Linked DNA regions of Homo sapiens: region 1 is linked to region 2. Evidence: promoter capture Hi-C in human tissues and cell types (Jung and others, 2019). All regions are on one chromosome and are shown on one strand. Each heading gives the region's core, a stretch centred on a gene start or on the middle of the fragment in contact. The rest is flanking DNA. Distances are from core to core; before and after follow the strand shown.

Evidence for each region. Contacts are between HindIII fragments. The study calls those that stand out against the background at their distance.
Region 1: a contact is called between a fragment that was not itself captured here and the fragment with the promoter of PDGFRB in region 2, in 1 of the 25 tissues and cell types used here (pancreas).

Annotation. Positions count from the first base shown.
Region 1 is chr5:150,103,238-150,107,744 of GRCh38, forward strand. It overlaps a transcript of CSF1R not described here. Among named protein-coding and RNA genes, the nearest start is that of CSF1R, 19 kb to the left of the region's middle. The HindIII fragment of the contact is 7,045 bases long and covers 1-4,507 here.
Region 2 is chr5:150,153,694-150,158,522 of GRCh38, forward strand. It overlaps PDGFRB (platelet derived growth factor receptor beta), which reads right to left and starts at 2,152. Exons shown (of 23, transcript NM_002609.4): 1 at 1,704-2,152. RefSeq lists an enhancer at 4,070-4,829. The HindIII fragment of the contact is 14,571 bases long and covers 1-4,829 here.

The sequences.
Region 1 (4,507 bases), core at 1,025-3,524, 50 kb before region 2:
CCTTGGCGCATTTCTGACAGGTCACCTGCATCCATCTGTTGTGGGAAGCAGTTAGCCCATGCTTCCCTATCTGGCCCAGATCTGCCTCTCTGTGACACCCACCTGTTGCTCTGGACCCTCAGGCAGCTCTGTTCCCTGTCCCTCGACAGGCCTCCAGTGATGCAGACAGCACTTGTGGTCCCCGGAGGTACTACTTCTCCAGGGTGAGCACTCTGGTTTCTTAGTAGTCTTTCCTGGGACATGGTCTCCAAGCACATCTGGCCTCCCTTACTCTCATCAGATCAACAACATGCAAGGTCATCAATGTGACATTAACTTCTTAAAGTCCAACACATTTGGAAGCAAGCCCCTAAGTGTTGTAACATAAGCACAATCAGATGGCGCTGGGGAACAGAAGATGGAGAGTCTGTGAGGCCTTCCAGAGCAGTGGCATTGGAGCTGGGCCTTGAAGGAGGAGCAGCAACCCTTCAGGCAGAAAGGAAATCCCAGGAGAGGGAATAGCATAGGGGCAGAGAGGGTGAAAAATCAGGACTCTCTGGGGCCAACCAGAGTGTGAAGGAATGGAGTGGAGATGGGAGTAGAAAGGGGGTGAGGTCCAAGTACTAAGAGTACCTGACAACCTGGCAGGGTGCCAGGGCTTGATCCTATAGGCCATGGGTCCTTAATGGCCTGGAGGCCTCTAGAGGGGTGCACCTCCAAGTGCAGTTCAGGGACCCCAGCCTCAGAATCACAGGGGTAACTGTTAAAATGAAGACTCCAGGACCATCCCAGGCCTGCTGACTTAGGGGTGGGAGGGGGGTACCTGCACAGGTAACAAGCTCTCTAGCGGATTCTCATGCTCCCTCTGGCTGAGGCCACTGCCTTTGAGAGTCCCTGGATGGCCTTGAGGAAACCTGGGCACCCCTAACACGGATGCAAAGTTTGTGTGTGATCTTGCCCAGCTTTCATGCAATTCTCACCAAGTCCCTGACCCAGGCTGGCAGAGACCCCTCTCTGGTGGAACATGTTTAGGTGGAGGAGGGGTATAACCAGCAAGAGGGGTGGAGGCTACAGTAGTCCTGAGGGATGGCCTAGGCCACCTTGGCAGGACCTGTCTCTGTCCCCACGATCAAAGGATGCTGCTTGTCCTGTCATTTCTATCCATCCAGCTAATTCCTATAGCTCCTTCAGACTCGCTGCCTCCTGGAAGCCTCCCTGTTCCTGCCAGATGGGCAGGTATCCTTATTATGCATCCCAGGCCTTTTGGGCTCAACCGCATCCCAGCATTTTCCTTGCATGGCAGGCTTCAAAGGTTTATCAGGTGCTCACTATGTGAAAGGCAGCACGCCCAGTGCTCTTTGGAATTTTCTCATTGAATCCTCAACTCTAGAGGTAGGTGTGGTTATTATCCTTGTTTTACTGAAGAGCAAACCAAGGCTCAGAGAAGTTAAGTCACTTTCCCAAGATCACACAGCTGGTGAGGGCATTTCTGCCTCCTATGGTACAGGTATACCTGACCATTCTGATCCACTGATTTTAGATGTATGAAGAGTGAATGAATTAATGAATGAATGCTGTATGCCAAAGCCCCGTGAGTAGGAAGGTACTCTGTCCTCCTGGAAAAAATGGCATTTAGAGGCCTAATCCTTACTCTTTTGTTCATTTGTTCTTTTTTTTTTTGAGATGGAGTTTCATTCTGTCACCCAGGCTGGAGTGCAGTGGCGTGATCTCAGCTCACTGCAACCTCCACCTCCTGGGTTCAAGTGATTCTCTTGCCTCAGCCTCCTGAGTAGCTGGGACTATAGGCACCCACCACCACGCCCAGCTAATTTTTTAATATTTTTGACAGAGGCTGGGTGCAGTGGCTCACACCTATAATCCCAGCACTTTGGGAGGCCCAGGCAGGTGGATCACGAGATCAGGAGATGGAGACCAGCCTGGCTAACACAGTGAAACCCTGTCTCTCCTAAAAATACAAAACATCAGCCAGGCGTGGTGGCACGTGGCTGTAGTCCCAGCTGCTCAGGAGGCTGAGGCAGGAGAATCACTTGAACCCAGGAGGCGGAGGTTGCAGTGAGCCAACATTGTGCCACTGCACTCCAGCCTGGGTGACAGAGAGAGACTCTGTCTCAAAAAAAAAAAAAAAAATATATATATATATATATATATTTTTTTTTTTTTAATAGAGGCGGGGTTACCATGTTGGCGAGGCTGATCTCGAACTCCTGACCTCAAGTGATCTGCCCGTTTTGGCTTCCCAAAATGCTGGGGTTACAGGCGTGAGCCACTACACCTGGCCTCTTTTTTTTCTTTTTCCCTTTTTTTATAGGCAAGTCTCATTCTGTTGCCAGGCTAGAGTACAGTGTCAGAGTTACAGCTCACTGAAGCCTCAAACTCCTGGGCTCAAGCAATCCTCCTGCCTCAGCCTCCTGAGTAGTTAGGACTACAGGCACACACCGCCCACTTGACTAATTTTCTATTTCTTTTTGTTGAGACAGGGTCTCACTGTGTTGCTCCAGCTGGTCTCAAACTCCTCCTGGCATCAAGCGATCCTCCTGCCTTGGCTTCCCAAAGGGCTGAGATTACATGTGTGAGCCACCACACTGGACTCCCTAATATTTTCTGAGTGCTGTTTATGTGCCAGGCACCACAGCAGGCTCTTTCCATATTTATCTAATTTAGTGCTTTTAACACATGAGGCTGATTCTATTAATTACGCCATTTTGCCGATGAGGAAACCAAGGCTCAGAGAGGTTAGTTCACTTGCCCAAAGTCCCAGAGCCAGGGAATGACAGAGCTGAGACTGGAAGCAGGCAGCCTGGCTGCAGAGCCTACGCTAATGACCAGCACACTGCACAGGGCGATCCTGACCTCCCCCAGCAGTGGGTGTGCTGACCGCTAGTGGACACAGAGTGGGGAAGTGCCATGGGACTCAGTGGGGTAAGCCCTGACTGAGGAAGCCTTGGTGATGCTGCCGGGAAGGTGACAAACAAGAATCCCAGATTGACATTACCCCTTCCTGTGGCAGAGGAACTTTGAGAGGAGTTTGCATGACAGCCCAAGGATTAGGAAACTCTGAAGAAATGTGTGGGCCATGTCACACTTCACATACTGAGAGCCTAGTTTTCATCTCCCTGCCTGACTCCTGGACCCTGGAACCTCCAGACCCCAGGTCAAGGACAGCTTAGCCCCCACCCTCCTGCCCAGTTAACCCCAACTGCAGCCCATGCCCTGGGACCCAGGAGGTTCCCCACCAGAGAGTGGAGTGGGCCCAAGCTAGGAGCCAGGGACCCAGACAGAATAATGGCAATTTGGCAACTGGTTCCTCTTTGACCCTGGACCACAAAGGTTCGACCACACCTATCTCTAGGCCTGAGGATTGAGCTCTAGTGTCTGAATTGGAGTACTATGGGGTATTTGCTCCCATTACTATTGCAGCTCCATAGAGCAGATCAAGGCCATACCCTGTAGCAGGGCTTACAGGGGCCTTTGCAATCTGATCTCTGCCTCTTCTCTCTCCATCCACCCTCCCTGCTGTACTGAACACTTGCAGCTCCTGCATACACCCCCACACTCCTTCTTCCTGTTCCACATACTTCTGCTTCCACCTGGCCCATAAGCCTCCCTTTGCCTGACTGAGTCCCTGTCTTATAGTCTCTCGTGGCTCCCTGAGTTTCCTGGCACTTCTCGCTGTCAACAGAAGCACAGTTATGAGAGTGGTTATTGGTGTGATGTCATTCTGACCCCTTTGTTCTGCAGCAGGAGTTTCCTGGTAGGGCCAGTCTCCCTTCCGGTCTTCTTTATACCCTCTACACCTGGCCCTGCCTGGCAGATGAGTGCTCAGTCAATGCCAGATGCATGAAGAAATGTATAAACAATCCAATGAATGAATGAATAAATGAAGAGCAAGGAGAAGCTCTCCACCCTCCAAAAGCAATTTATTCAGCAAATGCTTCATGTGTCAGGCCTTGTTCTGGGCCCAGGAAGGCCAAGGCTCAGAGCACTTTCCTGCATGCAGGGACCTCACCGCCTGGTGGGAGGTAAGGCAAGTAGCTAAGTGGTGTTATACAGTGCAGCTGATAATATCTGACATCTATGGACATTAACATGATTTGTCATCCAATTTGGAACCTTTGAGACTGGAAGGGGTGCTATTAATAATTGCATTAACACAGGGGCATGAAGAAGGACTGTTCTGGTTGATCCATTGGGCACACTCTTCATGCCAGTCTCTGGACTGAGCTATTTGCACAGATCATCTCATTGATTCTCCCAGCCACCTTAGGGGAAAGCTGTAATTACTCCATGTTACAGATGAAGAAAGACAGGCTCAAAGATGGTAAGTAACCTGCCTGGAGTTAAACAGCTAAGTGGCAGAGCTGGGTTTTAAACCCTGGAACCCAGAGCCAGAGCCCACATGTTCAACCACTGTCTTTCATCAATGGCAGGGGCTCTCAGGAGGATCGAGGGTAAAGGGGAACAGCCTAGGCTTTGGAGCCAGATAGACCAGGAATTCATTCCCCACTCC
Region 2 (4,829 bases), core at 902-3,401:
GGGGAGGACTGCATGACTTCAGAACTTGTCACTAGAGGCCTCTGTGCAATTGGGAGGTCACAGAGGGAAGCAGAGATACTCCTCCCTGCTTGCAATGGAGGAATGCTGCCTGGAGTAGCCACACGATGTCCTGGAAGGGCACCTGTGAGAAGGCTGGAGGCCTGGGTTCTAGTCTCACACTTGGGAGCAGAAGGTCTTCAGTGAGCTCCTCCTCCCTTTCACCAGGACATTTTTTCAGCCGCACTGCCTATCCAGGGCTGGGCACTGGGGGAAGAGCACAGGATGGGGAAACCTTAAACCTTTCCCCAGCAGAAAGTGCGGCCTCAGTTCTGACTGCTGGGGCCTGAACAATCTCTGATGAACAAACAGAACATAAACAGATCACCAACAGGGGAGGGCCAAGTAACATGGCTTCAGCACAAAGTGCATGGCTAGCACTTGGAAGACAGGAAGAACCTAGGAAGGCTGCCTGGAAGAGGTGGTGTATGGAATATCCCTGAAAGAAAAGTGATGAGGAAGGGCATTCCAGAAAGGGGGAAGAGGGAGGGCAAATGCCCACAAGCAGGATGGTGCGCATTCCTTCTGGGAATTCTGGGATCTGACTGGCGGGAACAAAAGGCCCAAGTTTGGAGTAATGGGGCACGGGGAGATTCCAACCTCTCCAGGCTGTGCCACTTACTAGCTGTGTGGCTACAGTTATGTGGCTGCGTGAGCCTCAAGTTCCTCATGTATAAAACGGAGGTAAAAACAGTCACTGCCTCTGGGGTTGCTGGTGAGCATTACATGAGATCAGTCTCATAAAGCACTCAGCACAGTTGCGGCGTGCAGTAAGTGTCAAGCAGTGGCAGCCTCTGTTAGGAGCTGGGACTTTCTCCAGGCACTGGGGAGCCATAGGCGGATCCTGGGCAGGGAGGTGGTGTGATTGGATTTATGCTTTAGAATGGCATGGAGAAGGGGTAGAGTCCAGAAGGAGGGAGACAACGAGGAGGCCTGAGCAGCTGCCTGGGACCAAAGGAAATGGCCCAGTGGCTGACCCCTTCTTCACAGAGGAGCCCCCAGATCTGACAGCCAGGTCCCAGCCCCCAGACCCAGCAGCATGACCGCTAGGGGGTTGCCATGGCCGCCCATCACCCTCGAACTTTCCTAGCCCTCAAACTTTTCTAGCTGCTGGGGGTTTAGAAGGATATCTTAAGAATCTAGAAAATTTGCAAATCCATTTAAATCCCCAGAGGTTGCCTGGCGGCTGACTGGCCTAAAGCCAGACTGATTCTTAGAAACAAGGCTTGGGCCAAGGAACAGCGGCTATGGTCCTGAGGTCCCCAGTCCCCTGCTTTCTGTGTACCCTGCCTACCTTCTCCCAATTCCCCTCTCCCGCTCTTCCCAGCTCTCCCCACTCCCCATTGACTGTGCTGTGCTTTGGAGGCCCCCAGTCAGCACCCAGAAACCCCTGAGGATTGTTTGATGAAGGCAGGAGCAGCAGGGATGATGAGGTGGAGGCCACTCACCCCAGAGCAGGGGAAAGGAGAAAACTGGCTCCTCCATCCCTGACATCACCCACAGTCTCCCAGCCTCCTCTCATCTTGTTTTGTTAAAAATATCTTCCCTTTTTTTTTTTTTTTTTTTTTTTACCTACTCGAAGAGATGCAGGTTAGGGCAAAGGGACAGGGCATGGGGCTGGGGTTCCCACTTTTTCCAGCACTTACCTTGCTGCTGATGGCTTCTGGTGTGGGCACAGTTCCAGGCTCTGGACAGTCACCCCCTCCAGGAAGTCCTCCTTACTGCCCTCTCCCAGTTATCAGAAAGACTGCTGGTCCCAGAGTGGGTAACAGCTGAGTAGAAGGACAGGCAGGACTGGTGCAGGCTCCTGAAGGCTCAGGAGAACAGAGGGATGGAGGAAGGGGGCTGCTGTAGGGGAGAGGAGCGGCCCAGCTTCGCCTCACTCCCCAAGCATCCTTCGGGAGGAGCAGAGCCGCCAGAGGGGCCGCCCTGGGTCTGGCTGTCTGCGTTGGGCAGGGCGAGCACAGGCTGCTGCTGGGCAGCAGGGCTGAGGGGCCGGCTCTCTCCTCCTCCTTGTTGATCTCCTCTCTGGCTCCAAGTTGCTCACAGAGCGATCCTGGGTCCCAGATAGGGCGGGCAGTCACTGCTGGCTGCTGGCAGCCTCAGGAGCTCACACCACTATGGGCTTCCATGCCCCCCCACTTCCCCCGCCACTTTGGGGGAAAGGCTGCAGGGTGGCTTCTGATTGGCCCAGCTGGGAGAAGGGGGGGCGGCGGGGCAGGGAGGGTGGACGCGTGCGTCTGTTTTCAATTTCAGTTTTTTTCCCCCTCTCTCTTTCTTTTCCCCCAAGTTTCTTGTTTTTCTTCTTTTCACTCTGCTTACTCCCTCCCATCGCCCGTTCGCTCAGGATGTGAGGGGATGCTTAGAAATTCCACAGCCCACGCCAGCCGCCAGCTGCTGAGTCACTTTTGTCAAAGAGTGGCCTCGGCCCCACTTTCCCGATGCCCATGTCGGGTGGCGGCCTCCCCTTGCCATGGCACCCAGGGAGATCATTTCTCAGTGCCTCAGTTTCCCCATCTGTAAAGGAGACTCTGATCATCTCTGTGGTTGATTCAGTCAACCTTCATTCATTGAACAAGCATACTGAGCATTTACTACATTCTAACACTGTACTGGGTGCAGGGGACAGTAGCAAGACGTGGTCCTGACCTCAGAAGCACCAGGCTAGTGAGCAAGATATTCATTGGGCAAGCAGGTGCCCGGTCGGCAGACAGGAGGCTGAGAGTGCATTTAGAAGGACCCCTAACGGAAGCCTGAGAGAATCAGAGAGCACTGCTGAGAAGAGGTGACATGGAGGAGATGGAAAGATCCTCCAAGATGATCAGCCGTTTTTCAGAAGGACAAACCAAGGCCCAGGGGTGAATTGGCACAGAGAGGGAATGTGATTTGGTCAAGGTCATCCAGCACAGATTGGATATCTCTGGATATTGACAGATACATTCCTTTTCACGTCTCAAAGCCCCTGGGGTGCAAGGAGAGGATTATTTGCCCCATTTTATAGATGGGGACACTGAGGCCCAGAGGAGCAAAATAAGCTTCCCAAGCTTACGCAGCAATGGCAGAGCTGGGGCAGAACTAGGTCTCATGAGACACATGATGGAAGAGACACAAGTCATCTGACCCCCACCCGAGACCCCTATTCCAGTGTAGATGAACCCCCTGCCCTGCTTTCTTCCTAGGTTCCCCCTGTGGCTCTTTCATTCAGTCACTCAACAAGATACTTTCTTTTTTTTTTTTTTTTTTTTTTTGAGATGGAGTCTTGCTCTGTCTCCCAGGCTGGAGTGCAATGGCGCAGTCTAGGCTCACTGCAACCTCCGCCTCCCAGGTTCAAGTGACTCTCCTGCCTCAGACTCCCAAGTAGCTGGGATTACAGGCGCACACCACCACACCTGGCTATTTTTGTATTTTTTGTAGAGACCGGGTTTCACTATGTTGGCCAGGCTGGTCTCAAACCCCTGACTTCATGATCCACCCACCTCAGCCTCCCAAAGTGCTGGGATTACAGGCTTGAGCCACCGCACCCAGCCTCAACAAGATACTTTCAAGTATCCGTTTTGTTCCATTTCCATTCTCTGGCTCTCCTTTCCTACCAGGGTCTGCCAAGACTCCTCCAGTTCCCCCAGCTGGGTCTCTTCTTCCACCCTCAGCTTCTCAGATCAGAAGACATCTCCAGTTACAGACTCCTAGCCCTCAGATGGCAAAGGGCATTATTTTAGAAGGGCATATAGAGTGGGCTTACCACCCCTGCTCCCACTACTGCACCCACAGGGCAACTGAATTCCAGAGGGTGAAGAAAGCTGTCCCAGGTGACACAGGTAGAGGCTGGCTCTGCCCTCCTTCCCTCTGCGCCGCTAAGTCTTTCCTCCTCAGCTTCCCCCAGACCCCTGTTCACAGAGCAGAGGATTTGCGTGAGCTGGGATTCCATGCCCACCACAGTCAACTATCTTGCATTTCTTGGTCTAGTCCCAATCGGGATTGCCCAGCAGAGCATCTGGGCTGGACCACATAGAAGGAGAAGTGTTCTCAGACTGGTTCCCAGCCACGGGTTGGGGACCATAAGAGTACCCCGAGAGAGGGGGCCTGGCCAGGTCTTTGTGGCAACAGGGAAATAGGGGAATGTGAAAAGATCCCACAGGCCACAAGGTCAGGCTTGCACAGGGATTTCTTGTGCCCAAAGATTCCGTCAGAAATTTACGACTCCCCTCCTAGCATCTGCCTGGGCCATTCACCTCTGAATCCTTGGCTGACCCTCTGCAGCCAGGCCAGCCTGGGGGAGGCCACGAGACACACCAACCCCCTAGTCCCCAAAGAAGCTAGTCTGGGAGTCAGAAGACCCAGCCACAGACTTATCAGGAGAACTTGAATAAGTCCCTTGCCCTGCCTGAGCCTCGGTTTCCCTATTTGTACATAACAGTTGTGGACTCACTGTGCTACAAGGCCCTTGGGATGGTCCGTCTGCAATTTCCCTTAGAGCTGGACTCTAGCAAGGGAGAGGAGGCTGGTGGGCCCTAGGGCAGGGGTACAGCTGGGGCCAGAGATGCAGCACAAAGGGGAGGGGCAGTTGGCGGTGGCTCCCCTGGGAAGCTGGCGGCCTCCAGTTTCCGGCCAGCCCAGCCGTCCTGAGGCCCATCTGGAATTACTTAGCCCCTACTGCCATTAACCCTTGGTGGGCACCAGGACTGTCACTCCTCCTCTCAACTGAGATATGGGTGGGAGGTGCAGAGCTACAGGGAGCAACCCAGGGCACTCACCAAGGGGCAAAATTGTCATGA